5 separate regions of the Homo sapiens genome follow, and all the other regions are linked to region 3. Evidence: promoter capture Hi-C in 16 types of primary human blood cells and fetal thymus (Javierre and others, 2016). All regions are on one chromosome and are shown on one strand. Each heading gives the region's core, a stretch centred on a gene start or on the middle of the fragment in contact. The rest is flanking DNA. Distances are from core to core; before and after follow the strand shown. Region 1 has its middle 140 kb from the start of CACNA1I. Region 2 overlaps ENTHD1 (ENTH domain containing 1). Region 3 holds the start of ENTHD1 (ENTH domain containing 1). Region 4 overlaps CACNA1I (calcium voltage-gated channel subunit alpha1 I). Region 5 overlaps ENTHD1 (ENTH domain containing 1).

The links. The method cuts DNA at HindIII sites, captures the fragments that hold promoters and counts their contacts. A CHiCAGO score of 5 or more calls a contact.
Region 1: a fragment that was not itself captured here is called in contact with the fragment with the promoter of ENTHD1 in region 3 in 3 of 17 cell types (activated CD4 T cells, megakaryocytes and naive CD4 T cells); the score reaches 5.4 in activated CD4 T cells.
Region 2: a fragment that was not itself captured here is called in contact with the fragment with the promoter of ENTHD1 in region 3 in 1 of 17 cell types (megakaryocytes); the score reaches 9.3 in megakaryocytes.
Region 4: a contact is called between a fragment that was not itself captured here and the fragment with the promoter of ENTHD1 in region 3, in 1 of 17 cell types (naive CD4 T cells). The highest score is 5.9, in naive CD4 T cells.
Region 5: a fragment that was not itself captured here is called in contact with the fragment with the promoter of ENTHD1 in region 3 in 4 of 17 cell types (megakaryocytes, naive CD4 T cells, activated CD4 T cells and 1 more); the score reaches 7.2 in megakaryocytes.

Annotation. Positions count from the first base shown.
Region 1 is chr22:39,708,840-39,711,539 of GRCh38, forward strand. No RefSeq gene overlaps it. Among named protein-coding and RNA genes, the nearest start is that of CACNA1I, 140 kb to the left of the region's middle. The HindIII fragment of the contact is 677 bases long and covers 913-1,589 here.
Region 2 is chr22:39,763,760-39,766,459 of GRCh38, forward strand. ENTHD1 (ENTH domain containing 1) reads right to left here. Exons shown (of 7, transcript NM_152512.4): 6 at 1,464-1,850. Among named protein-coding and RNA genes, the nearest start is that of ENTHD1, 130 kb to the right of the region's middle. The HindIII fragment of the contact is 1,369 bases long and covers 730-2,098 here.
Region 3 is chr22:39,892,346-39,895,045 of GRCh38, forward strand. ENTHD1 (ENTH domain containing 1) reads right to left here and starts at 1,415. Exons shown (of 7, transcript NM_152512.4): 1 at 1,350-1,415. It also overlaps a transcript of GRAP2 not described here. The HindIII fragment of the contact is 18,515 bases long and covers 1-2,700 here.
Region 4 is chr22:39,671,244-39,673,943 of GRCh38, forward strand. CACNA1I (calcium voltage-gated channel subunit alpha1 I) reads left to right here. Exons shown (of 37, transcript NM_021096.4): 27 at 956-1,065; 28 at 1,706-1,839. Among named protein-coding and RNA genes, the nearest start is that of CACNA1I, 100 kb to the left of the region's middle. The HindIII fragment of the contact is 2,897 bases long and covers 1-2,700 here.
Region 5 is chr22:39,742,299-39,744,998 of GRCh38, forward strand. ENTHD1 (ENTH domain containing 1) reads right to left here. Exons shown (of 7, transcript NM_152512.4): 7 at 746-1,985. The coding sequence ends at 1,381. Among named protein-coding and RNA genes, the nearest start is that of ENTHD1, 150 kb to the right of the region's middle. The HindIII fragment of the contact is 1,525 bases long and covers 607-2,131 here.

The sequences.
Region 1 (2,700 bases), core at 1-2,500, 180 kb before region 3:
TGAATGTCAAAATCCCAAAAGGTCAAAATCCCTGAAGATCAAAATCCCTAAAGTCTAAATCCCGATTGTCTAAAATCCTTAAATTCTAAAATCCCGAAAATCACAGTCACAGGCTATTGCATCGTGTTAGGCAGAACTATGACCTTGCTATTGTCTTTATTTGGAAATTAAGTGTGGCTTCAGGACATGCGTACGGGTGCCAGGTTGACAAGGGTAGATTTGTGGATGAATTTTAGGCGTCCTCTTGCCCGGAGGAAGGACCGGGTGAAGGACTGTGTTGGGTGTGTTTGTGAGGGGTCTCCAGGGGAGACCCGTGTGTGGGTCTGAGTAGGCTGGGTGGAATGCTCTGTCCTCAGTGTTGGCGGGCACCATCCAAGCAGCCAGCGGGTGGGAGAGAACAAATGCCGAAGGCGAATCTCCGAGAGCCGGGACAGCCTTTCCTTCTGCTGCCTTCGACATCAGAATGCCAGGCTCTTAACCTTTAGACTCCAGGACTTAACCAGCATCCCCCCGCCCCGGGGCCTTGAGGCTTTTGGCCTCAGCCTGAGATATAGATCATCGGCTTTCCTGGTTTTCAACACAGAAACATTGAATCCTCCTCAATAGATGAAGAAATGTCCTTTATGTACATCTGCATTTGTGAAATAAAATCTTTCGAGATCTCAGCTATTTGGGTGCCTGCACACGCCGTGACGACCCATTGTGGCTTTTGGTCAATTTCATCAAAAGGCTTAGGTTGTCCGTCATGTAATATTTCAGATGACCACAGTTATGAAGCTGAGTGCACACACTCCCTTGGTGATGTGCGTGTACCTTGTCCCTTTTTGACTCACTTTATGAATACGGTTTGTCTGCTTATAATTGTTATACTCGGTGATGTGCATGTATACTTTCCCTATTTCTTTATGAATAAGCTTTGCCTGCTCATAATTTTTGCACCTCGGTGACCATCATTAGCATACCTGGGTGTTTCTGCTTGCAAAAATATGTATGGTGTTATTGCCTGTTTTATGGTGTAAACTGGCCTGTGAAGTGTTCTGTTGTGCTTTTATATGTTTCTTAAATAAATCTTTTAAAATTGTAAATAAACATCTTTTAAAGACTTTTAAATTATTTTTTCCAGAAGTGATAGCTTTGGGATTTCAACATTCAGGATGAAGGTGTCCAGAATTAAGTCTTTTGGGATGATAACTGGCTCCCCTCTAAATGCCATGCTGGCTACAGCTCTGGGTCTCATGCTGTCCTCCACCCCACACCCCGGCGGCCCGAATGTCCTTCCCCTCCCAACCTCCTGTGTTTTGCCAAATAATTCCTATGAGTCTTAGAAGGACTTCTAATTTTTAAGATGCTCCAGTGGCATTGCCTTCTGCAGGAAGCCCTCCCCGAGCTGCAAAACCCTCTCCGCTCTCACTGCACTAGGTAATGCCACCGCCTGTCTGGGACTTGTCTGTCCCCAGTGTCCCATCTCCTCCAGAACACTAGCTCTGTCCCAAATTGCAGCCCATGAGATTGCCCGAATCTGCCGCTCCCGGGAACCCTGCTGTAGATCAGAAACTTCCACTCAGATGGAGCCCCCAAAACAGAGGAGAAGCTTGCCCAGAACCAGCAGGGTCCTGAAGCTGGATCCTGAAGGAAGGCGGCCAGCCTCCGGGCACCCAGGTTACATGCCCCTCAGCTGCCAGCACCCGCTCTGCTCTCTCTCTCCTTGGAGAACAGGTGCCCTGCCCTGAGGGCATGGAGGTGCCACCTGGGATTTCTGCTCCGGGGCAAAGAGCTCTGAGGCCAAAGCTGCTCAGCCAGCTGCCTTTTCTCCCAGATTCTGCTCAGGCACAGCTGCCCTCACCGTGTCTTTGGTGAAAGTTGTCAGGGTAAAAATGGAGTCACTTGTGTTTAAAACCCTGACAAACAGAGCCAGAGAAGGCTACAAAGGGAGGGTTCTCGTGCATGAATGCCTGATACCAAGAACTATCATAAAAGTCTCTTTAAAAACCACCACTTTGCACAAAGGCCATTGCAACCTTACACAGAAAACCGCTCCTGGAGGACATCGGCCCAGCAGCTGCCTGTCCAGCCTTGGATTGGTGCCACCCTTGTTCCTGATTCTAGCAGCCAAGGATACTTATCTTAAAATGATGACCTAATCCTCTTCATTTTCCTTTAAAAACCTTTGCCTTCCTTGACCTCCCTGGACGCACATGCAGTTTACCACGGCACACATATTTCCACGTAGCGCCCGTTCCCAAATGAACCTCATTTTTTGTAGAAAGCCTCTTCCAGTTTGTTAGGTTGACACGTCACATCCACGGCAGGGAGCCATGCAGCTCTTAGGGTCCCCGTGCTCTCAGCTCACTCACTGCAGACTCGCAACATTTTACTTTTCATTGCATGTTCTCACTGGGAGGACCTGGGGTGGACCCCAGTGGCGTCAGGATTGGATCCATCTGGAAATCCCTCAGGTGCTTGGACAAGTGGGTCCCCGATTCTAGGAGCCTAAGAAGAGGACCTGGCAAGGACCCAGATGGTCCTCGTCAAGATGAGGACGGGGCCGCCTGTGCCTTGAAACCTGCCTGGCAAGAAGTGTCCCTGCTCGTCAGGGGGTGGGGGGAGCGGGGCGAGGGTGGGAAATGTCTTGCTAGGAGAGAGTTTTTTATTCTTTAACTTATATAAGCTGTGGCCACAGTGCGCTCCTTCGAGACGCAG
Region 2 (2,700 bases), core at 164-2,663, 130 kb before region 3:
CAGTTTTAGAGGAACTTCTCGCTAAATTTTAAGTGTACTTGGTACACTCACAGCGACCAAAAAGTATTTTCAATGATCTTTTTGTGGTATTCATGAAATAAAAAAACCAAACGTATCAACTTCCCAGCGACAGCCAGGCACATAATCCATCAGAGCCATCATAACCAGTACTAACAGGTTTCCACATCAGCAGTCTCAGAAGAAAAGTTAATTGGTTGACAAAACTGAGAATCAGTTTTACTACCTTTAGGCTATTCAGTATCAAAAAAGTCTTGAAAGAGCACCAAGGAAAATCTTTTGTTACTCATTGACCTTACTAATACCAATATAAATTTCTTTAACTTCAACATGGTGGCTTCCATTGTTTATATTTATATGTACTTTTGATCTGGGTTTGAGTCTGTTTAAAAGATTCACGTTAAAATCTTTATTGGCCAGACACAGTGGATCATGCCTGTGATCCCAGAGCTTTGGGAGGCTGAGGCAGGAGGATCACTTGAGGCCAGGAGTTCAAGACCAACCTGGGCAACATAGCAAGACCCCACCTCCACACACACAAAAATAAAATTAGCCAGGAGTGGTGGCATGCACCTGTAGTCGTAGCTATTTGGAAGGCTGAGGGGTGGAAGGATTGCTTGAGCCCAGGAGTTTGAAGCTGCAGTGAGCTATGATTGCACTGATTGCAACAGAACAAGACCCTGTCTCTAATAAAAATAAATACATTTAAAAAGCTTTATATTTATATGAGTTGGTTAGCACTATTATATGTAAGAACCAATAAAACTACTACTTAGTCTTTGAAAAATTCATAAAAATTATTATTTTACTAGTAAACTTTAAAGTAGAAAGCATAATTATATAATAGAGGATTTAGTAACTGAGAGCCAATAACCTGAAATCTCAACTGGCTTTATCCTTTATTACCCAGTCTAAACAATACTGCAATCTTCTTAAGGTTTTTTATATCTTTATAATATAAAATATATATAATATAAAAAAGACAAGATCCCCTGCCCCTTTTGTGCAATCAGTACACAGCCCTTTTTAAAGGGGCACACATACACCCGTGTGTATGTGGGGGTGTGTGTATACACCAATACACATAATAACCAATTCTTTTTCATATAATCTCTTAATAAGTAACCTACATGTCTAACAGAAAGCACTTACTTCACACTAGTTCCTTCTAATTTGGTCTGCACCAAAATTGCTCAGATCTTATATTCAACCAAGGACTCAGAACCCACGGTGATGAATTATCTATTAGCCCTTTAATAAAAGGGGGACTTTCCCAACTAAGAAGTATGTGTATGGCATGTACATTTTAATATCAATGATGAAGAGTGAAAGGAGGGAACAAAAAAAGGAGACAGAAAGCAGAGAAAAGTAAAATAATGCTTCAAAAGAGGTTTTTTGTTGTGTGTGTGTGTGTGTGTGTGTGTGTGTGTGTTTGGCAGACTCACCCCGTGTGGTTGTCTTGAGGATTTTATCATCCATCTGAATGCTGGATTGTGCTGGTTTCTGGTAGGCCTTGTTGATTACAATCTCCTTCACTCGGTCAAATATTTTGAATGAGGGAGAGAGACAGAGTGTTTCTACAGAGGCCTGGTTATGGAAAGTAGAATCTGACTTTGATACCCTTAAGTCGGGGCTGATAAACTCCTCTTTACTTGACCAACATGCTGGTAAAATTGTCAATGTTTTAAGACCTTCTGCAGCTGATTGCTTTTCTAAAGGTGTTTCCAAGAGGTTTTCTGTGACAGTATTTGTAAAGATACCATCTGATCTCTTGTCCAAACTCACATCTCTCTGCCCAGAAGGACTATTTTCTGAGAGAGTAGGCACAGCATCTATAAAAGAACAAATAAGAGCTATAATCAAAAAATAAAACTGAAAATACTCTATTTCAAATCTGTTATAATTTTAATAAATAGGATTTTTTAATGTCATAACAGAATTCTTTCCTATTTAGCCCTCTGCTTTCTTACTATGCTTCTATATTCTGCCTATTTAAAGTACACCCAAGCTATAATTGACGCCTTAGTCATTTTGGTAGCTGCCTTCTCCCTCTCTCCTCACTGAAGCACAAAGCAAGGAAAGCTTCAAATAACTTGTCTTTAAATATTTCTCCCTTCACCCACTTATCTGTCGCTGAAACCACCATATTTTTAGTACTTTCCAACTTTCATCTTTTTTACAAGATAAACTAGGGAAAATATGCCACATCATACTGGTCTATCCTTACAGAACCCTCAGCTACAAAAAAAAAAAAAAAAAAAAAAAAAAAAAAGAAAGAAAAAGAAAAGCTTTCTCCCCAAAAATAAAGAATGTCTTCTTCCACACAGTTTCTATATGCAAGGCACATTAAAGAAACTCAGTACTTTAGGTAGAAGCTTAATTTTAATAAATGCTTTGTCTATACGGAAGAAAGGAAACAATCTTTCAGAGCTGTTCTGACAATTAGTAAAATATAAGTTCCACTGGGCTGGAGATCTTTGTCCATTCTAGTGGTTAATATCACCAAAGTACATAAAATAGTCCCTAGAATATAACAAACAATATTTATTACAAATAGAAAACACTGAAGGAATTGTAAGAAACTGAAACTGAAGGTGGGCCTGATCCAGGAATGTCTATTGAATCTACGCATTATAGACCTGGTCCGAGTTTCTAGATGCAAATTCTTAGGAACACCCTCAG
Region 3 (2,700 bases), core at 165-2,664:
ATCCCAATCCTTTGAGGCCAGATGATTTGTGGAAATTCTCTTTTGGGTGCGGTGGTAGGGGTGGAATTTTCAAGAGTAGTGCCATGTCTATACCATATATTACATGATACCCACAGTAAGGTGTGGAGCTGCTCTGAACAATTAAACACATTAACATGTCTGCAATAAAAACATGTAAATATTTGGAATAAAGACTACAAATGGCCTCAGGCCAAGTTTTACCACCAAATGAGTTGGAGGAAAAGTTGATTTCCAAAAGTTTTTGGATTTCAGGATTGAGAATAAGGAACAGAGGAGCTGAACTGACTTTATCCAAAGACTTGGGACAATAATGACAATAGCATCTAAGAGGCTGAGTGTCCAGAGCTATCTCTGAAAAGATGCATTTAAGGTGGAACTATGAGAAAAGAACAGCTCTTGTGTTTGTACAGGTTCTGCCTATAGACATGAGTTTGACTCGTAAGGAAATGAGCTCTGGCCAAGAATGCTACGGGAAAATGGTTATAGAGACTACCATGCCATTAGGAGGTGTTACTGTTTTGATGAAAAGAATACTGTCAGAGGCAGAGAATCTAATCTTTTCCAGCCCTAAGTGTGTGTTCATTAATTTATTCAACTAATAATCTTCCAGAGCTTACCATGTGGCAGGCTCCATTCTAGGAAATGGAGAAACAGGTGCACAAGACACAGTCCTCACACCCTGGAGTAAACAGCTACTCTTCATTGAACGCTCACAATGTGCTCACACCTGGGCCTTCACATGCCTCATCTCTCTCCTTTAATTAGGATTCAAAGCCATGATTTGAGGTCCTGCTTTGCCATTTCCTAACTAAGACTTAACAACTTCTCTAAGTCTCAGTTCCCTCATCCGCAACACAAAGAATAATCGCCAGACAGGGCCGTGGGGGAGGAAGAAACGAGATGCTTTGGAAAGAATTTTGAAAATGGCGGGTGGAGGCTGAGCAAGAATCAACTTTCTGTGGGCAGGGCCTTTCCTCGGCATCCTCGTCTTCATTCATACAACCCCCACTTCAGATGACGACTGTGTACCAGATGAGCCAGGTGCTGGGCGTTCGGCCACACAGAGAATCAGACCAGCAATTACCCTAGGAGAACCGGCAGTGGAGGGGAAGGCTGGACCTCAGGAAAGCCTCTAGAAGGAGAGAGGGACGTGATGGCGTCACGTCACGCCACAGGGATTTCACCTCCTGCGGATGGTAATGGCCTCGCCGCCCTCCCGCCCCCACCTGGACTCCGACGGTGCCGGCAAGAAACGGGAGGAGGGAAGGCAACCGATGTTTCCAGACCCGCCTTGAGCCCCACCACCACTCCCAAGCAGAGGCTGTTACCTGAGAGGAAAGTCGGCCGCTGCCCAACGACCAAACTTCCTCTCCCCAGGATATTCCACCTACTCCAGCCAGGCTCAAGGGCCCAGGCCGGTCCCCACTTCCGCTTCCTCACTTTCTGGCCTGGTGCAGTTCCTGTCAGGGCGTCAAGCAAGATGGTTGCAGATACCTGAGCTGGAGGGTACCAAGGGGAATGAAGGTAAGTGTCTTCGTTTCACAGGCTGCCGGGCTGTGACACTGCCCTAATCCTCCTTTCAAAGAATAAATTTTTTTTTTTTTTTGAGATCTGGGAAATAGTTTAATCAGACACTAGCATTTATTCTTAGCTGCTTTCTTAATTAAATAAAAATGAGTATAAATTAATTTACTAAATGTTCACAACGTAAAAACGGACATTAAAAAAAGAAAAAAAATGCCAAGGTAAGCTGATAATGTTTTTAAAAAGTAGACAATAAAATAATGTATGTAACTTAAAATTTGCCATGATAATTTATTCTTAAAATGGAAAATCAGTAAAATACTCAGACTTCTAGCATAATATCTCTTTTTTTTTATTTATTATTATTTAAGTTTTAAGGACATGGATGAAATTGGAAATCATCATTCTCAGTAAACTATCGCAAGAACAAAAAACCAAACACCGCATATTCTCACTCATAGGTGGGAATTGAACAATGAGAACACATGGACACAGGAAGGGGAACATCACACTCTGGGGACTGTTGTGGGGTGGGGGGAGGGGGGAGGGATAGCATTGGGAGATATACCTAATGCTAGATGACGAGTTAGTGGGTGCAGCGCACCAGCATGGCACATGAATACATTTTTAAAAGTGTGTTACTACTGTCATTTCAACTGACTAGAAATACCACCAGCACGTGATTGCCACCTCAAAGGACTGAGAATGTAATAGTAGTCTATGAAGAGCAGTGTGTGTGATGGACAATGATGGGGTAGCTCCAGTGACTGATGGCTTCAGGTGCCACTGACGGGTAATTGTTGATGTATTCAACTGATTTTCCGTGAGCACCCACTTTGTGCCAGACAGTAAGGACTCGGAGATAAAAAGCAGCCCTCTGCTGGATACGTTTACAGGCTAGTGGAGGTGACAGGCACCGTCAGAGAAGATTGTAACAAGATATGTATGGCATAGTAAGAGAGAAGAGATCATCTAATTCTGCCACTGAGTATTTAAGGGCAGGTTTCACAGAAGAGTTTACATCTGAATTGAATCTTAAAGGATGACAGGGAGTTCACTGGATAGACAAAGTAGAGGAGGACGTAAGAGGCAAAGGACACATCATGTGTAAAGGCATGAAAGCTGAGCCAGCCTATTATCTTGGAAAAACTACAT
Region 4 (2,700 bases), core at 79-2,578, 220 kb before region 3:
TGACTCTTTGCAAGGCACGCTACATATATGAACTCTTTAATCCTCGCAGCAATCCTAAGGCTGGCAGGGGGAATCCTTTGTCTGGATTTTATAGGTGAAGAGCCTGAGGCTTAGAGAGGTTAAATATGCTGCCCAAATTACTCAGCCATAGGTAGTGGAACCAGGTCTGGAACTTAGATTTGCATTCAAAGCCTACCATGTAGCCTCCTTTACTACCTGGGTATATGGAGACGAGGCAAAAGGGTGGAAGGACCATTTCAGGCAAACACTGGGGGTGGGTGAGGATGACCATTTCCCAGCTTGTTGCAGACCAGGTATGTGAGGGGCATGTGAGGAGCAAGTGCATTCTAAAAACCCTGATGGAGTTGGAGGGGAAGAAGAGGGAAGCAGAGCCGCCAGGTGTGAAATTAATACCTTATTTCAAATGATGGGAGAGGAATATTATGAATGCAGAAAAAAGAAAGATAACCATTGGCAGAATGAAACAATAATTATACAACTTCCAAATTAACAGGAAAAATGGAATATTAATAGCTTACATTTACCAAGTATTATTCTGTTTCCAGCACCGAACTATCAGCTCATTTAATTTGCATACCAGCTTTCTAAGATGAAATGACTTACTCAAGATCATAAGGTGAATATGGAGTGAGCACTAAGCCAGGATTCAAATGTAGGCAGTCTGGCTCAGTAGCTCTTCATTAATACCCTATATTGCCTCCAAAGGTACCAACTCGACCAGATACACATAAATAAGAAAAAGGGAACAGAAGGAATAGCAGCATAAAATAAATAGTACACACTAAGATGGAAAGAATAAAAGCAGCATATAAATAATTACACTAAAAGTAAATGGACTAAATTCTCTCCTTAAAAGGCAGAGACTTTCTGAGTGGAGGAAGGTTGTGGAGCAGGTCATGTGCCCTGGATCATGCTTCTCTTTGTTCCTCCATAGTCCCTGGAGACAGCCCTCAAGTACTGCAACTATATGTTCACCACTGTCTTTGTGCTGGAGGCTGTGCTGAAGCTGGTGGCATTTGGTCTGAGGCGCTTCTTCAAGGACCGGTGAGTGGCCAGGCTGGATTAGGGCAGTAATAGGGTAGACTGCAGGATGAAGAAGCAGTCCTGACCCTTAGGGAAGTCTGGAGCAGCCTGAAGAGGGGAACCAGTAAGCATCTAGGCACGGATGGACAGGCACCCCAGCTGCTGCTTATAGCTCTGAACAGGAAATAATTATGGTATCATCTGATGGGCGTAGGGCATTCTACCTGGCCCTTCTTGGCTCATCTTTGGTACGTTGTCTCTACCCTATGGGCAGAGCAGGGTCTGCCTCATGCTAATACTCCTTTTTGAAGGGAATAGTGAGGCTCAAAGAAGTTGATGGACTAGCCTAAGGCCAGACAGAGAGAGCAGCCAGCTCAAGATTAGACTTGGAAGTCATAGTCCATGCCTCCTCTCCTGCAGGAGGCCAGAGATATTTATTTAGCCTGATCAGCCCCTTGCTTGACGGAGTGATGGCTATGGGGAGCAGAGAGGGGCCTGGACCCAGTGGCGTTAGGAGGGGCTAGTAAGGGAGGGCAGCCACACAGCCTAATGGGCCACAATAGAAGGGTCAGGACCTGGGAGGCTCCCCCCACTAAGGTGTGTCTGAACCAGAGGGATCCTCCTCATGCCCACTCCTGCCCTCCCATGCACGGCTGAGCAGATGGAACCAGCTGGACCTGGCCATTGTGCTACTGTCAGTCATGGGCATCACCCTGGAGGAGATCGAGATCAATGCGGCCCTGCCCATCAATCCCACCATCATCCGCATCATGAGGGTTCTGCGCATTGCCCGAGGTGAGGGGCAAGGGGTGGGACAGGGAACGGGGACAAGCAGGGGCGGGATGAGACTCCTCATTGCCTGATGAGAACACACAGGAGTGGGGTGGGGAGGGGTGGGGGCAGGAGTTTGCAGGCATGGTGGGCTCCTTGCTGAACAGGGGTGAGAAGGAGCTGGGAGGCACACAGCCAACACACACGCATGCACCCTCTGTGTGCACACACCTCCCCCAACACACAGGCAACTTTGCATAGCACACATGGACACACACTCCCACTTCCTTATGACGCCATGACCCATGGGGTCCAGTCTCAGAGTGTGATGCAAGGAACCCAGTCCAACTGGGAAGATGTGAAACACCTCCAGTTCCTCGCTGGCATTTCTCAAACACAGTGACTGGGACGCACGGTCTTCAGAGATCCTTCTCCCTCCCCTCAAGGTAGTTCGTACACTTCTTTTAAAAGCCTCCTGCCTCAGGGCGAGCCCAGGTGCCTCTTGCTCTTCTGCCTGCCAGAAACTCAGCGAGTGATGCCAGAGTCCTCTTTATCGAGAGGGGAAGAGAAGAGATGTGGCCACTCACGCTGGTCCTTTGTGCCCGTGACAGTTCATGGCCCACCCATTCACACACTTCATAGACCTCAGTTTCCATGAGTATGCCCCGTCCTCGGGGGCTTTTCTACAGTGACACCCACGCCTTGTGTCCACATGTTTTTGTGCATGCCCCACTCACCCTGTGGCTGCACCCACATTCTTGTAATGTGGTATCTGAGAGCCAGACTCTGCTTGCACGTGCCTTCATGTTCTCTTCTCCCAAGTTTACACACGTGCACACATGCGTGCACACACACGTCCCCACCGGCCTGGGGCTGAGTGGGCAG
Region 5 (2,700 bases), core at 119-2,618, 150 kb before region 3:
CACTGCAAGCTCCACCTCCAGAGTTCAAGCGATTCTCTGCCTCAGCCTCCCGAGTAGCTGGGATTACAGGTGCCCGCCACCATGCCCGGCTAATTTTTTTTTGTATTTTTAGTAGAGACGGGATTTCACCATCTTGCCCAGGCTGGTCTTGAACTCCTGACCTCGTGATCCACCTGCCTCGGCCTCCCAAAGTGCTGGGATTACAGATGTAAGCTGCCACACCAGGTCTCTCTAACAGTGGTTTTTAAGAACCTATGTCATCTGTCATCTTTGCTCCATGACCTTGAACTCCGTCTACTCTCCCCTTTGCTCACTTCACTCCAGCCACACCAGCTTTCTTGCCATTCTTCAACCACGCCAAATTCCTCCAGCTTTAAGGTCTTTTCACTGACAATTCCTTTATCACTTAATCCAGTCTGCATGATGAAAACCAGTTTCAATTTGTCTGGGAGCAGGACCCTGGCATTAGTATATTTTTAAAATGTTTCGTATGTCTTCAAAATAATCAGGATTATTTTAGCCTCGAGTTGGTAATTGTTGAAACTGAGTGATGGGCACATGGAGCCCATTACACGATTCTCTCAGACAAATATAAAACAAAAGAAAAGCTTCTGTGGTGATTCCAGTGTGCAGCAGGGTTGGGAATCACTGGCCTGTAATCCCCAAACCGGACTGTTTTGCCCATAAATAACAGACATTTCTATTTGAAAGGCTGTCTTAATGAATTAAAAAGATACACAGAAGATGAAAAATATCAAATTTATTTTCTGAAGTAGAATAAAAGGATGCATTTGAATTCACCTTGCAATATACATTGACAGTAAAAACATTTGCCCCATGTCCTTCTTGTTTCCATTTAACTCCTAACACTAGCATCTGGAAGAAAGAAAAGATTTCTGGCCCTTGGTTGCAGAACCTAAAACTTGCAAAAGAATGTGTGAAATGTATACCCCCAAACTCAATCCTCCTAGGTCACCTCAGAGGCTTGTTAACAAGCTCCATACAGTTGAAAGATAAAGAGCTTCTTCCTGCCTCCTTATCCAAAAGCTCTTGAATAGTCATTTGCAGTTTGAGGTCTTACCACAATTTTCACTAATGCTTAACCCATTTGAGGTACAGAGCATGAAAGAATGAAATTCTCTTCTGTTTCAAATGAACTAATATCTAAATCTGAAATTATCAAAGGTGACATCTTTCCCTTTTAAAAAATAAACCACCCAAATGAAAGTATTAGTTTGAAAGATACTTGCTAATAAACCTGACAAGGAAAAATTAAACCATCCCCTTTTTTGCCATAATAATATGAATTTATACAATGCTAACGTAAGTCTTGGGGAAGTGGAACCACACGAGTTCTATCAAAAATAGATATTGTGATGATTAGATCTGATCTGAGCTCCCCTCAGAAGACTGGGGGACCTGGGAAGACTGGCTTATTTGTGAACTATTCAGACTCATGCTCATCAAGATGTTATTGATGACATTAAGTTCTTGGATCACTGTGCTCAGATCTTCATGTAATCTAGCGATCGCACGTTTTACCTCCCTTAAAAGAACACTAATGGAATTCTTTGCTTCAGGTTCCTGGGGGAAGTCTTTGGTTGACTGAAAACCAGAACAGGACAGAGGGATGAACTGGTCTACATTTTGGGTGGAAAACTCCCCCCAGTGACTACTAGAAATGTGACTTATATTCTTTTTAGCAGAATCAGAGTTATTTGGAAGAATTCCCAGTAGATTGAGGCTATCATTTTCCTCTACATCAGAAGACACTGGGCCCCTAGAAGCAAAGGAGTGATGCAGCTTGGCTGTCTTATCTTCATCTTTAAAGGAGGTAGAAGACAACTGTTGATGGGACAGAGTCCAGAAGGAAGGTCCGGCCAGAATTGGTGATAAGAGATGAGCTGACTTCTCTGGAGAGGCTAAATCAGGAGATGACATGGATAAAGGAGAAAAGGAAGATGCTCCCTCAGAAGCAGTTGAAACTAAAATGTGTAAATGAGAGAAAAAAGATTTATGCAACATACAAATGAGAGTAATAGCTAAAATAATTTTATAATGTAAAAGCCTATCTGGAAGGGCTCAACATAAATAAACTGCTTAGAATTTTAAATGTTAACTATTCATAATAAGCTTAAAAAAACCCAAAGCAGGAAACTAAGAAAATCTACAGATGTATTATATATCAATAATACCATGGAAATGAAACTAAAATAGAATTATCAATATTCATCTTGACTCATCTTGACTCAAACCCTGCCCAACATATTTTTACACTAAACTTAATCAGAGAGAGTAGAAAAGTATTAAACCCCATTCTACTGACTGCCAGCATTTTAAGTTGGTATTTAAAGTAGAAAGTGAGAAACCTGTAACAGATTCCTTCAACTTTTTAATTTTTTTTCCTGTAGAGATTATTATGGCAAAATGAACTACCAACTACAAGTACCCAAAAGTTAGTGAAATAAATATTTTTCTGTCTATAGTGAAATATAATCAAGACTGAAGTCCAACACATCTGAAATCTAGAATACTTTAGCACACGTATATAATCATTTTTTTTCTCACCAAGAAACTAAGTGAAGTAAAAAGCATTCTAAGCCTTTTTTTCCATAAAATTACATATTTGGGAAAGTTTTTACTTCCTTTCTGGCAAAATCATATTAAATCTCCCACACTTTATTCTAAATCATTTCCCAA